3 separate regions of the Homo sapiens genome follow, and all the other regions are linked to region 3. The links are contacts of gene promoters, found by promoter capture Hi-C in blood cells and fetal thymus (Javierre and others, 2016). All regions are on one chromosome and are shown on one strand. Each heading gives the region's core, a stretch centred on a gene start or on the middle of the fragment in contact. The rest is flanking DNA. Distances are from core to core; before and after follow the strand shown.

Region 1 (4,692 bases), core at 78-2,577, 560 kb after region 3:
GCTGAGATCATGCCATTGCACTCCAGCCTGGGCAAAAAGAGCAAAACTCTGTCTCCAAATTAAATAAATAAGTAAATAAATAAATGGGAGGGAGGAAGTCTGTCAGAGGCCTTTGAATCAGAGCAACTCCATCTTGAATGGAGGCTGGGTAAAATAGGGCTGAGACCTACTGGGTTGCATTCCCAGTCACATTCTAAGTCACAGGATGAGATAGGAGGTCGGCACAAGATACAGGTCACAAAGACCATGTTAATAAAGCAGCGTGTGGTAAAGAAGCCAGCCAAATCCCACCAAAACCAAGATGGCGAAGAACGTGACCTTTGGTCATCCTCACTGCTCATTATATACTAATTATAATGCATTAGCATGCTAAAAGACACTCCCACTAGTGCCATGACAGTTTACAAACGCCATGGTAACATCAGGAAGTTACTCTATATGGTCTAAAACTAGGAGAAACCCTCAGTTCTGGGAATTGCCCACCCCTTTTCCAGAAAACTCATGAATAATCCACCCCTTGTTTAGCATACAATCAAGAAATAGCCATAAAAATAGGCAACCAGCAGCCTTCGGGGCTGCTCAGCCTGGGGGATAGCCATTCTTTATTCCTTTACTTTCTTAGTAAACTTGCTTTCACCTAAAAAAAATACCCAACATCAATTATCATTAGAAAAATGCAAATTAAAACCATATAAATATCATCTCACACCAGAAAGAGAGGGAAAATAAGTGTTGGAAGGGGTGTGCAGAAATTGGAACCTTTGTGCACTATTAATGGGAATGTAAAATGGTGCAGCCTTTTTAGAAAACAGTAAGGCAGTTTCTCAGAAAATTAAAAATAGAATTACCGGCAGGGCACGGTGGCTCACGCTTGTAATCCCAGCACTTTGGGAGGCTGAGGCCAGTGGATCATGAGGTCAGGAGCTCGAGACCAGCCTGACTAACATGGTAAAATGCCATCTCTACTAAAAATACAAAAATTAGCTGGGCATGGTGGTGTGCGCCTGTAATACCAGCTACTAGGGAGGCTGAGGCAGGAGAATCGCTTGAACCCGGGAGGCGGAGGTCGCAGTGAGCGGAGATCATCCCATCACACTACAAAATGACAAATACTATATGATTCCACTGATATGAGGTCCCTAGAGTAGTCAGATTCACAGAGACAGAAAACAGAATGGTGGTTGTCAGGAGCTGGAGGATGGAAAATGGGAAGTTGTTGTTTAATGGGCATAGAGTTTCAGTTTTGCAAGAAGACAGCCCTGAAGATTGACTGCCCAACAATGTGAATGTGCCTAACATTACTGAACTGTACACTTAAAAATGGTTAAGATGGTAAATTTTATATTATGGATTTTACCACAGCTTTTTAAAATTATTTTAAAACTGGCTGTCACAAAAAGGAAAAGAATATCAGGTGAGATTGGTCTAGATTAAAGAGACTGGAGAGATGTCATGACAACTAAAAGCAATGCATGATCTATAATTGGTTCCTGACTTTAAAAAATATTATATATATATATATTATATATGTATATATGTATGAGTCCAATTGTCCAACCAAGTACCAAATGTCATTCTTCATTTCTTGCAGGCACTCACATTCTCCACAGAGGCCTACTGAATTCTTTCTCATCACATGGCTCCCTAGATGAAAGGAAAGGTCTCACACTGTGACAACCTTCCCCCAACCCACTATCAAGGATTCTGACAACTATCCCTTTCCCTAGTACCGTCTTTATACAAACTGGGGATTGGGGAAAGGTAAGGGGGTGATATCGTGATTGGTTATCAGAAAGCTGGCTTGGCCACTAACTCTTGGCAATCAGGTGGAAGCTACTCTTAGAATTACTTCTTTCTGTTTTCAGCATAGCTCAAATTCCTGGGCAAAAGAAAAACTCTTAACCAGATGGGGCAGCTCATGCCTGCAATCCCAACATTTTGGAAGGCCAAGGCGAGAGGATTGCTTGAGCTCAGGAGTTTGAGACTAACCTGGGCAACAGAGTGAGATGCCCTCTGTACAAAAACTTCTTAAAAATTAGCCAGGTATGGTGGCATGTGCCTGTAGTCCCAGCTACTCGGGAGGCTGAGGTGGGAGGATGGTTTGGGCCTGGGAAGTTGAGGCTGCAGTGAGCTGTGATTGTGTCATTGCACTCAGATCTGGGCAACAGAGTAAGATGCTATCTCAGAAAAAGAGGGGAAATCCCTTGCATATTATCCTTTTACTTATTATGACAATTATTATTCTCTTTTCCCTTGTTTTGCTTTTTCAGGCTGGTCAACTATCTGTTCATTTGCTCTCTTCTGTATATGGGTGTAGGGGCATGGCTCTGCCACGTTGACCTGCCAACCTTATATGTACTCACATAGGCCATACAGGCAAGGCTTAACCATAATTAATCAAAGTCTTGGCGGACATTCTGTGATCCTTGGGGAACAGGCTTATGAGGAACTACCACAAGGCCACTTTCAACTCATCTTTTTATCTTCTTGGGAGGCTGTCATGAGGCAGTTCTTATCACTTCCCAGGTTCTGATAAGGTATGAGGCATTCTGCCTCATCTTTCTTAGGGCAGAACTGCAAGCCATAAACTTCTTAGTTGCAAATGGACTCAGCTCCTCAGCAACAGGGTGTCTCATTACTCAGGTTGCCATCCCCTTTTGTATTGGTGCTGTCCTGTGGGAGAGCTGGAAATTCTGCTTATTTCCTTTTGTGTCTATGTAAGTAATAAACTGTCTGAATCAAACAAGGACTGCTGTTTCTTTACTAATCAAAGCTGCTAGGATTTGCCTGAGAATGGGTTCTTATTTTTCCTTGAAGTTCTGTTTCAAAATAGTTTCTTTTTCAAACCTTGTCAACTTGTCTTGGCAACCAGGGATTTGGTTCATATCTGGGAGAGATGACAGTAGTGAGAAGCTGCTCAGAGGAACTGTGGGGATCTGGAAATTTGGTGAAGAGCAGATTTACTCATGGAGTAGGTCTCAAAAGACTCTTACCAAGGCTAACCTCCAGAGTTTCTGTCCCAACCTTAAACCTCTTCAGCTCCTGACCCAGCCTAGTCTTCTCAGGAATCCATGCCGTTTTAGACCCCTCCTTGAAAAAGGGCTCTCTCCCATCTCCAAGAAAATGATAAGCTTGGTGGGGACATACATAGAGGACTAAAGAGGGTCCATGGACATCAAACCTGCCCCCAAAACACAGACAGGAAGAAGCATGCAAATATATCACTGAGATAATGCAGAAAGTAGATTGAATTTGGAGTTCCTTGACAGATAAGTGTCATGAGTTGGTATACCCTGGGCAGTAGGGTCAGCCTAGGCCTGAATGGTTCAAGAACGATGCTGAGTTTTAAGTTTCCTTCTACCCACCACAACTTCCAGACCAGGACACACAAACTTGGGAAGCCCCCATTTGAGGATGCACACCACTGAGAGAAACCCATGTCTTCCTTTCCCTAAAAACTGTTCCCCCAGCTGTGTCTAGGCTCACTCTCCCTCCTCCCACTCAGTGGCTACCTGCCACAAGTCTTGGACCAGCCTCAGTGCTTCCCAGATGACCAAACCGGGGTCATTTTAGCTCAAATCAACTTTCACAGCCAGTACATGAGTCAGACCCATGAAATCCTCCCAAACTGCCAAATGCCAGCCTTGGGTCTTTAAAGCTACCAGAGCTTCATTGTTACCTGGTTACTAGGTAATAACCCACAACAATTACTCCTCTCTGGATCTGGGCCTAAACATTCTGGTATCTTATAGCTCTTTTGTATTAATACTTTCTCTGATTACCTGAAATGATATACCACATAGAAAACTGTACTAAGAGTTATTGAAGAATGTGCAAAAAATTAACAAGAGGTCCAAGGAAAACTAAGCACATGAAGAAAAGTCAAGCATTAACTTCAGGAAAAGTAGAAAGAAGAAAAGGAGACAATCATGGTATATGACCATGTTCTGCTGGGAATTATATTTTGCAAAGGCATAAAAATGTTAACATGAATATTCATCTAACAAAGAATTGTTAGGGCCAGGCACAGTGGCTCACACCTATAATCCCAACACTTTGGGAGGCCGAGGTAGGAGGATGGCTTGAGCCCAGGAGTTCGAGATCATCCCATGCAACACAGTGAGACCTCATCGCGACTAAAAATAAAAAATTAGCTGGGCGTGTGGTATGTGCCTGTGGTCCCAGATTCTTGAGAGGTTGAGGCAGGAGGATCGCTTGAGCCCAGGAGGTGGAAGCTGCAGTGAGCCATGATCGCACCACTGCATTCCAGCCTGGGTGAGAGAGCAAGAGCCTGTCTCAATAAAAGAAAAAGAAAGAAAAGAAAAATTAAGTCATTTCAATCATATACAAACTATCCTAATTAATAAGAAGGAACACTTCCTAAATGATTTTCTAATGCTAAAATAACCTGATAGTGAATCCTATTGTAAAAAATACACACAAAAAAGGAAAAGCCCAGTCTAATGTCATTAATGTAAATAAATGAAAAAAAACCCATACTAATTATTAGAAAATTAAATCCAGTAGTACATAAAAAAGAATAATACAGCATAAGTAGAATTTCTCCAAGATATGAGGTTGACTTAACATTATAAAAGTAATTAGTATATATGCAAAGTTAATGAACTAAAGGGAAAATCATGATTATCTATGTACATGCAGAAAAATTACTTAATAAAATTCAACAACCTT
Region 2 (4,743 bases), core at 1,929-4,428, 530 kb after region 3:
GCACACATTTTCCTATATAACAAACCTGCACATTCTGCACATGTATCGTGGAGCTTAAAATAAAACAAAATAAAATAAATTTTAAAAGTGTCTTGAACTTGATGGAGATTTTGTTGAGAAATAAAATTGATAATTTTTATTTTGATCTTTTAATTCTATTTTCCATGAACTTTTGGAAGTCCCCACATAGGAAAGTAATCCATCTAAGTAGAAGGAATATTTCTCAATGTATGCTATGAAGACAGTATCACCCTGATGCCAAAACCAAAGACAATACAAAAATAAAAAGAAAACACAGAGTGATAACTTTTATAAATTTAGATTTCAACAATTTTTAAAATACTAGCAAATAAAATTTTACAATGAGTAAAAAGAATTATACACCATGATCAAGTGGGCTTTTTTCATATATTCAATATTTGAAAATCTGTCATTATAATCTACCATATTAAAGGGCTAAAGAAGAAAAGACATATGTTCATAATGATTATGTCAATAAATGCAGAAAGACATTCAACCAAACTTCAATATCAATTCACGGTTTTTAAAATTCTCAGAAAAATAGAAATAGAGGAGAACTTTCTCAACCCAGTAAGAAGCATCTATAAAAAATCTATAGACAGATTTATATTTAATTGTGAAGAACTGAATGCTTTTATCCCAAGATCAAGAAAAAAGCAAAAATATCTATTCTCACCACTCGTATTCAACATAGCACTGGAAGTTCTACACAATGCAATAAGGCAAGAAAAGTAAATAAGAGGAATACAAACGAGAAAGAAATAAAATTGTTTTTATTCATGTTTGACACAACTGTGTACTTTAAAATCCCAAGGAATGGACAAAAAATAAACCACTTCTAGAATAAATGAATTCAGCAAAGTCACTAAAAAAAAGATGAACATAGAAAAGTAAATTGTATACCCATATACTAACAATGAACAAATGGATACCAAAATTTAAAATATAATACCATTTCCATTAACTCAAAAAGGATACTTAGGTGTAAATGTAAAAAAACCATGTACAGGACTTGTGTTCTAAAAACTACAATAACTACACAACACTGATGAAAGATTTTTAAAATCTAAATAAATGGAGAGACATACACTGTGCTCATGTGTTGGAAGACTCAAAAAGTCATGGAGATACATCGATTTTTCCTGAATTGATATATAATTTTACACAGTTTCTACCAAAATGCCAGCAAGATTTTCTGTGGCTATAGATGAGATTACTGTAAAATTTATATGGAATACCAAAGGAACTAGAATAATTAAAACAATTTTGAGAAACAAGAAAAAAGTAGGAAAAATCAATGTACTCTATTTTAAGATTTTTACTAAATAGCTACAGTAATCAAGACTGTGTATAATAATAAGTAGATGAATAGACATGTAAATCAATGGAACAAGATAAAATAAATAATCCAAAAGTAGACCCATGCAAATATGCCCATCTGAATTTTGACAAAGGTGCAAATGCAACTAACTGAAGGAAAGATAGGCTTCCAAAAAATGGCATTGGAGCAATTGGACATCCATGGGCAAAAAAAATAAGCTTCAGCCTAAGTCTCACATCTTATACTAAAATTAATTCAAAATTTATCACAAACTTAAAAGTAACATAACATTCTAAGATTTTTAGAAAACAACATAAAGGAAAATATTCAGGATCTAGGGCTAGGCAAAAGGCTCTTAGACTTGACATCAAAAGCATAATCTGTAAAATGAAAAACTAATAAGTTGAATTTCTTAAACATTTTTAAACTTTTACCCTTTTAAAAAAAACATATTAAAAGCATAAAAGATAAAGCTAAAATTTTGGAGAAAATGTTTGCAAGCACATATCTGACAACACACTTATATCTAGTACATATAAAAGAACAGTCAAAACTCAACAGTAAAAAAGCAAACAGCCCAATTAGAACCTGGATATGAAAAGACATTTTACCAAAGAAAATATCCAAGAAGGCAAAGAAACACATGAACATATTTTCAATGCCAGTAGCTATTAGGGAGGAGCAATAAAACTACAATTGGGTATTATTAGATACCTATCAGAATGACTCAGATAAAATGTTGAAAACACCAAATGTTAGAAAAAAATTCAGAGAAACTAGATTACTCATACATTCTGGTGATAATGCAAACTGCTATAGCCACTCTGATAAAGAGTAAGGCAGTTTCTTTAAAAACAAAACAAAGCAACCAACTACCCATGGACCTCTCATATAGAACAATAATTGCATTCTTTGGCATTTATTTAATAGAAGTAAAAACTTGTGTTCACACAAAAACCTTTACACAAATGGTAATACAAATTTCATTCATAATATTCCTGAACTTAAAACATCCCAGATGTCCTTCAACAGATGAATAATAAACAGGGGAACATCTATGTAATGGAATTCTATTCCATTATATTAATACATTCAATAACCTGGATGAATTTCCAGAGAATTATGCTGAGTGAAAATGACTAATCACAAAATGTTTTATACTGTATGATTTTATTTATATATCATTCTGGAAATAACAACATTTTAAAAGTGGAAAACAGATTAGTCGTTGCAAGGGTTAAGAAAGAGGTGGGCCAGGGGTGAAAGGTAGTATGGGCATAAAAGGGCAATATAAGGAATCTCTGTAGTAATGGAAATGTTCTGGATCTTAACTGCATCAATATCAATATTTTGGATGTAATATTGATAGTCTTGGAAGATGTTACCATTGTGGAAAAGTGGGTAAAGAGTACAGAGGATTATTATTTCTTATAATTGCATGTGAGCCTACAATTATCTTAAATAATAAGTGTGTTCATCTGATTTGCTTTGCTATAAAGGACTACCTGAGGTCAGTACTATATAAAGAAAATAGGTTTATTTGGCCAATGGTTTGGCAGACTGTACAAGAAGCATGGTGGCAACATCTATTTCTGATAGCCTCTTATTCCTGAGGCCTCAGGAGCTTTTATTCATAATAGAAGGTGAAGGAGGAGGCCAGGCATGGTGGCTCATGCCTGTAACCCCAGCACTTTGGGAGGCCAAGGCGGGCAGGTCATGAGGTCAGGAGTTCGAGACCAGCCTGGCCAACATAGTGAAACCCCATCTCTACTTAAAAAAATACAAAGATTAGCCCGGTGTGGTAGCACGCGCCTGTAGTCCCCACTACTCTGGAGGCTGAGGCAGGAGAATTGCTTGAACGAGGGAAGTGGAGGTTGCAATGAGCTGACATCGCTCCACTGCACTCCAGCCTGGGCGACAGAGTGAGACTCTGTCTCAAAAAAAAAAAAAAAAGGGAGAGAGAAGGTGAAAGGGGAGCAGGCATATCACATGGCAAGAGAGGTGCCAGGCTCCTGTAAATAAGTAGCTATCATGTGAACTAATAAAGTGAGAATTCATTTATTACCACAGGGAGGGCACCAAGCCATTCATGAGGGATCCACCTCCATGACCAAAATACCTCCCACTAGGCTCACCTCCAAAATTGGAGATCACATTTTAACATCAGATTTGGAGGATACAAATATCCAAACCATATCAACAAGTTTAATTATAAAATCAGAAGCGAAGACAGCAAAATCATGAACAAGGAGGCTCCGAACTTTTGTCCCCCAACAGAAACATCAACAAAACAAAAAACAGTCAAAGGTCTACAACAACCAAGTAAACGCCCAATCAAGAAAAAAAAATCTATGAACATATTTAGACTGTAAGAAAAAAAAAATCTAGCCAGGAGCTGTGGCCCATGCCTGTAATCCCAGCAATTTGGGAGGCCAAGGTAGGAGGTTTGCTTGGGCCAGGAGTTTGAGACTAGCCTGGGTAGTCAGACTCCATCTCTACCAAAAAATAAAAATGAAAACAGCCTGGAAAACAGAGAAAGACCCTGTCTCAGAAAGAAACATTTGGTGATGATTTTACTCTTCCTTGCCTGACCTTCTTCCTGGCACAATATCAAACATGGTCTTGAATTGGTGACAGCACAGTTCCCAGTTCCTTCCCTAGAACCAAAGGGTGAAGAGCAGACTTCATTTACAATTTTTTTTGTTTGTCTCTTCTAATCTGTCTAGGGAAACAACTGAAGGACTGAAGCAAAGTGTTTGATTGTTTGAAGGTTAAAGAATTTGCAGGTGGCTATAATTTTAATGTTTGTCCCCTCCAGGCTTCATGTTGAAATTTGATCCCCATTGTGGCAATGTTAGGAGGTAGGACCTAGTGGGAAGCATTTGGTTCATGAAGGTGGATACCTCATGAATAGATTAATACCTTCCCTGCTGGGTTAGTGAGTTTATGCTCTAAATAGTTCCTACGAGAGCTGGTAGTTAAAAAGAACCTGGCATGCACACATAAACATCTGCCTCCTCTCTTATCATTTGATCTCTTTGCACACTGCCTAACCTTCCACATTCCACCATGATATGTGGCAGCCTGAGACCCTCAGATGGAAATATGCAATCTTGAACTTTCCAGTCACCAGAACCATGAGACTAATCATTTCTTTATAAACTATGTGGTCCCACTAGACTGTTACAGCATTACTAAACAGACTAAGACACAGGCACTGCTCCTAAAAGCTACAAGGTGACTACAAACCCACAGACATCTGGAGGAAGATATTATGCTTGGGGACATGTAATATATCATCTAAGACCTGGAAGATAAGCTGGGGTGACACTCTGTGGGAAATTAAGACATTCAAATTCAGCCACATGTATAAGGAAATTTAAAAAGCCATGTGCATGTCC
Region 3 (4,700 bases), core at 195-2,694:
TGCATTATAATTGGCGTATAATGAGCAGTAAGGACGACCAGAGGTCACTTATTATGCCATCTTGATTCTGGTGGGATTTGGCTGGCTTCTTTACTGAAACCTGTTTTATCAGCAAGGTCTTTGTGACCCGTATCTTGTGCCGGCCTCCTATCTCATCCTGTGACTTAGAATGCCTGTCTTCCTGGGAATGCAGTCCAGTAGGTCTCGGCCTTATTTTACTCAGTCCCTAGTCAAGATGGAGTTGCTGTGGTTCCAGCGCCTCTGACAGTTTGTCTTCTCTACTTTATTTTTTGTAGGGGGTAAGGGGTGTCTCATTTTGCTGCCCAAGCTAGCCTTGAACTCCTAGGCTCAAATGAGCCTCCCTCCGCAGCCTCTCCAAGTGTTGGGATTACAGGCATGAGCCACCACACCTGGCCTGTCTTATCTACTTTAAAGCAGTTTTCTTGTAGATTGACCCTCTGAATTCAGGGTCTATTCAAGTGAGGGCATCTTCTTTTCGGGTTGTTTGTTTTTGTTTTTTGCATGGTAAGAAGCGTGGGATAGGCCGGGTGTGGTGGTTCATGCTTGTAAGCCCCAACACTTTGGGAGGCCAGTGGGTGGATTGCTTGAGTTCAGGAGTTCGAGACTAGCCTGGGCAACATGGCGAAACCCCGTCTGTACAATACAAAATTTAGCCAGATGTGGTGGCTTGCGCCTGTAGTCCCTCTAGTCTCAGCTACTCAGGAGGCTGAGGTGAGAGGATCGCCTGAGGCCAGGAGATTGGGGCTGCAGTGAGCCAGGATCGCGCCACTGAACTCCAGCTTAGGCGGCCGAGTGAGACCCTAAGTCAAAAAAAAAAAAAAGAGAGAAAAGAAAAGAAGCAGGGCTGACTGATTAGGACAGCATTTCTTTTGCCGCCAGCTGAACTGCGGCGTCTAGAGTTCCCGGCCATAATTGCAAGAATTTATCGAAAAGCTTTACATGTTTTCTTGGTTTTGGTTTTGTTTTGAGACAGAGCCTCACCCTTTCGCCCACCCTGGAGTGCAGTGTGCGATCATAGCTCACTGCAGCATCGACCTCCCGGGTTCAAGCGATCCTCGCTTCATTCTCCTGAATTGCTGGGACCACAGGCGCGCGCCATCGCGCCCGGGTATTTTTTCGTTTTTGTAGAAATGGAGTCTTGCCATATTGCCCAGGCTGGTCTCGATCTCCTGGGCTCAAGCGATCCTCCCGCCTCGGCCTCCCAAAGTGCTGGGATACAGGAGTGAGCCACCGCGCCCAGTCGCAGTACACTAAAAGTATTTATTCGGTCCGCGTCCCCCGCCTGCGGGTGCAGGGATGGCGGCTCCAGGCTGGAGGCGGCTGGGGGCCCGGCCAGTGCGCCAGGAGCCGCAGGAACGCTAGTGAGCCGCGCGCTGGGCCGGCAGCTGGGGGTTATTTTAGTGCGCGGGGAGGGGGCGGCCCGCGGCGGAGCGTAGGGTTGAGCGGCTTCCCCCGCACTGGGGTGAGAGCCCAGAACAGGCGGTAGAGCCACCCCACCACCCCCAACTCCATTCCCCGCGCTCGCTGCGGCTGGACGTGAAAAGCCGGTCTCACGCTCTGGGGAGTTAGTCGCCTTCCACTGGGACCCTCAGACGAGTGAGCGAACATGAAGTCCGGTCCTGGCATCCAAGCCGCCATCGACCTCACAGCGGGGGCCGCAGGGGGGACAGCGTGTGTACTGACTGGGCAGCCCTTCGACACAATAAAAGTGAAGATGCAGACGTTCCCTGACCTGTACAAGGGCCTCACCGACTGCTTCCTGAAGACATACGCTCAAGTGGGTCTCCGGGGCTTCTACAAGGGCACCGGCCCGGCACTTATGGCCTACGTCGCCGAAAACTCGGTCCTCTTCATGTGCTACGGGTTCTGCCAGCAGTTTGTCAGGAAAGTGGCTGGAATGGACAAGCAGGCAAAGCTGAGTGATCTCCAGACTGCAGCCGCGGGGTCCTTCGCCTCTGCATTTGCTGCACTGGCTCTCTGCCCCACTGAGCTTGTGAAGTGCCGGCTACAGACCATGTATGAAATGGAGATGTCAGGGAAGATAGCAAAAAGCCATAATACAATTTGGTCTGTCGTGAAGGGTATCCTTAAAAAGGATGGCCCCTTGGGCTTCTACCATGGACTCTCGAGTACTCTACTTCAAGAAGTACCGGGTTATTTCTTTTTCTTTGGTGGCTATGAACTGAGCCGATCGTTTTTTGCGTCAGGGAGATCAAAAGATGAACTAGGCCCTGTCCATTTGATGTTAAGTGGTGGAGTTGCTGGAATTTGCCTGTGGCTTGTCGTGTTCCCAGTGGATTGTATTAAATCCAGAATTCAAGTTCTTTCCATGTATGGGAAACAGGCAGGATTTATTGGTACCCTCTTAAGTGTTGTGAGAAATGAAGGAATAGTAGCCTTATATTCTGGACTGAAAGCTACTATGATTCGAGCAATCCCTGCCAATGGGGCACTGTTTGTGGCCTACGAATACAGCAGGAAGATGATGATGAAACAGTTGGAAGCATACTGAAGTGTCTTGGTGAACCTGGATCCGAGTCCATGAGTTTGAGGACTACAGTTCATCACAGGGTTCAGCAGAGTACAAGACCACTGTCTAATTTTGACTTCATGGGAATTTTGGTTTTATCTTCCCTTCTTCTACCCTAAATCTTAACTTTATGGAAGGGCCTCTATTTTACATCATATAATTTCTGCCCATAATTGTATTGAAATAGGAAAGTTGCTGCTCTTGCACTTGCTGGAATGTACAGGGTGGGCTGGTTGGCCCTATGTACCTAATCTGAAAAACTAAATATCGTTCTGTCAGGGCCTTTGCATAAAGCCATTTGTGTGTACATGCAGTTTGGATGATTCTATGTCGTGAGTGAAACAATTTAGTTCTATATATAATCTCAAATATCAGCCCCCCAAACCCAGAATTGACCATATTTTGTGAAGATAGGTATGAATGATTACTTAGGATCACTCTCTCTTTTTTTCTTTTTTTTTGGAGACAGAGTCTCACTCTGTCGCCCAGGCTGGAGTGCTGTGGCATGATCTTGGCTCACTGCAACCTCTGCCTGCCTGGTTCAAGCGATTCTCCTGCCTCAGCCTCCCGAGTTGCTGGGATTACAGGTGCCCGCCACCATGCCCAGCTAATTTTTGTATTTTTAGTAGGGATGGGGTTTCACCATGTTAGCCAGGCTGGTCTCGAACTCCTGACCTCAGGTGATCCACCCAGCTCAGCCTCCCAAAGTGATGGGATTATAGGCATGAGACACCGCACCCGGCCAGGATCTCTTTTAAAGTCTGCTTAACATGCGCACTACATTAGGCGGTTCAAGTTTTGAAACATCTTCATGTGGTGCTTGATACCAAAATACTCCTCTCTCTCTCTCTCTCTCATATATATATATATATGAGAAAAAGTATATATATATATATACTTTTTTTTTTTGAGATGCAGTCTCACTCTTGTTGCCCAGGCTGGAGTGCAGTGGCACGATCTTGGCTCACTGCAACCTCCGCCTCCTGGGTTCAAGTGATTCTTCTACCTCAGCCTCCCAAGTAGCTGGGACTACAGGTGCACGCCACCACACCCGGCTAACTTTTGTGTTTTTAGTAGAGATGGGGCTTTGCCATGTTGGCCAGGCTCGTCATGAACTCCTAACCTCAGGTGATCCACCCGCCTAGGCCTCCCAAAGTTCTGGGATCACAGGTGTGAGCCGCTGCGCCTGGCCTCATCTATATTTTTAAGAGGAGAAGGTACCTGCATACCAGTGTGGCTTTGACATTCTTGAGTTAAAAGTTTCAGAGTAAGCATTGTGGATTTTCCCAAGAAACAATACCCTTAATATAGTGTTATCCATTTTCAAAGTGGGATTATATTCTGCACTCTGCCTATATGGTTAGGGATGATCTAGAGTATCATCAGGCCTTGGGGAATCCACACAGCCTTCCTGCGCCAGCTTCCGTTCTCCCCCTCAAACGAGCTGGGCTTTAGTTCGAGGAAGGAGCTGTGCACCTCTGCTTTGATGAAGACCCATGTGGCTGATAACAGTTCTTAGCTTCCAGTCTCTGGGTCCTGGCCTGGGTAGGACTCAAGGGTGTTCTATCGGCCCATTTAGAGGTTGTTGATTCATTTTGGGTCACTCACTGTCCTTTCTGCCTCCATCAGCCAGAAACCTTCCTGGGGAACAGAAAGTGACAAAGCTAAGAGAAGCTTTTGTTCCCTATTTGCTAATAATACTTGTGGGTAAAAGTCATCTACTCTCAGATAGAACTAGACAGAACTTAGTGCTTTTGCTCCACAATGAGTCATGTTAGGGACAACCCTTTCTTGAAGTTTACCTTGGGGTCCATAATACCTTCCCATGCCTTTACAGTGCTAGAGTCTTCTAAATTTGGTACTGTTCATCAGTAAATTTTAATGATAACTACGTATGGGGTGTGACTAAGGAATGAAACAGAAGAAAAGTAATTTTATTGAACTATATACCATATGTATGTATATGTACACTGTCAAAACCCCTCCAAAACAAAGAAAAACCCCCAACCCCAAAACGTAGTTCATTTATCTGATCCCCACAGACTTGGAGATAAGCAACTGTTCTTTGGCCATGTCATTCTTGTCACCACTAAAGTAAGCCCCATCATTCTGTGTTGCTCCAAGACCACCAGCAGGGTCTCTTTCAGTA

Evidence for each region. Contacts are between HindIII fragments. The CHiCAGO score rates a contact against its expected background, and 5 or more counts as called.
Region 1: a contact is called between a fragment that was not itself captured here and the fragment with the promoter of SLC25A2 in region 3, in 2 of 17 cell types (M1 macrophages and M0 macrophages). The highest score is 5.7, in M1 macrophages.
Region 2: a contact is called between a fragment that was not itself captured here and the fragment with the promoter of SLC25A2 in region 3, in 5 of 17 cell types (M1 macrophages, M2 macrophages, M0 macrophages and 2 more). The highest score is 13.4, in M1 macrophages.

What each region holds. Positions count from the first base shown.
Region 1 is chr5:140,740,010-140,744,701 of GRCh38, reverse strand. All of the region lies in intron 3 of LOC105378198 (a long non-coding RNA gene), which reads right to left. Among named protein-coding and RNA genes, the nearest start is that of ZMAT2, 42 kb to the right of the region's middle. The HindIII fragment of the contact is 3,613 bases long and covers 1-3,133 here.
Region 2 is chr5:140,768,746-140,773,488 of GRCh38, reverse strand. No RefSeq gene overlaps it. Among named protein-coding and RNA genes, the nearest start is that of PCDHA1, 15 kb to the left of the region's middle. The HindIII fragment of the contact is 3,232 bases long and covers 1,563-4,743 here.
Region 3 is chr5:141,300,793-141,305,492 of GRCh38, reverse strand. SLC25A2 (solute carrier family 25 member 2) reads left to right here and starts at 1,444. Exons shown (of 1, transcript NM_031947.4): 1 at 1,444-2,858. The coding sequence starts at 1,628. The coding sequence ends at 2,533. RefSeq lists a silencer at 4,515-4,700. The HindIII fragment of the contact is 3,271 bases long and covers 957-4,227 here.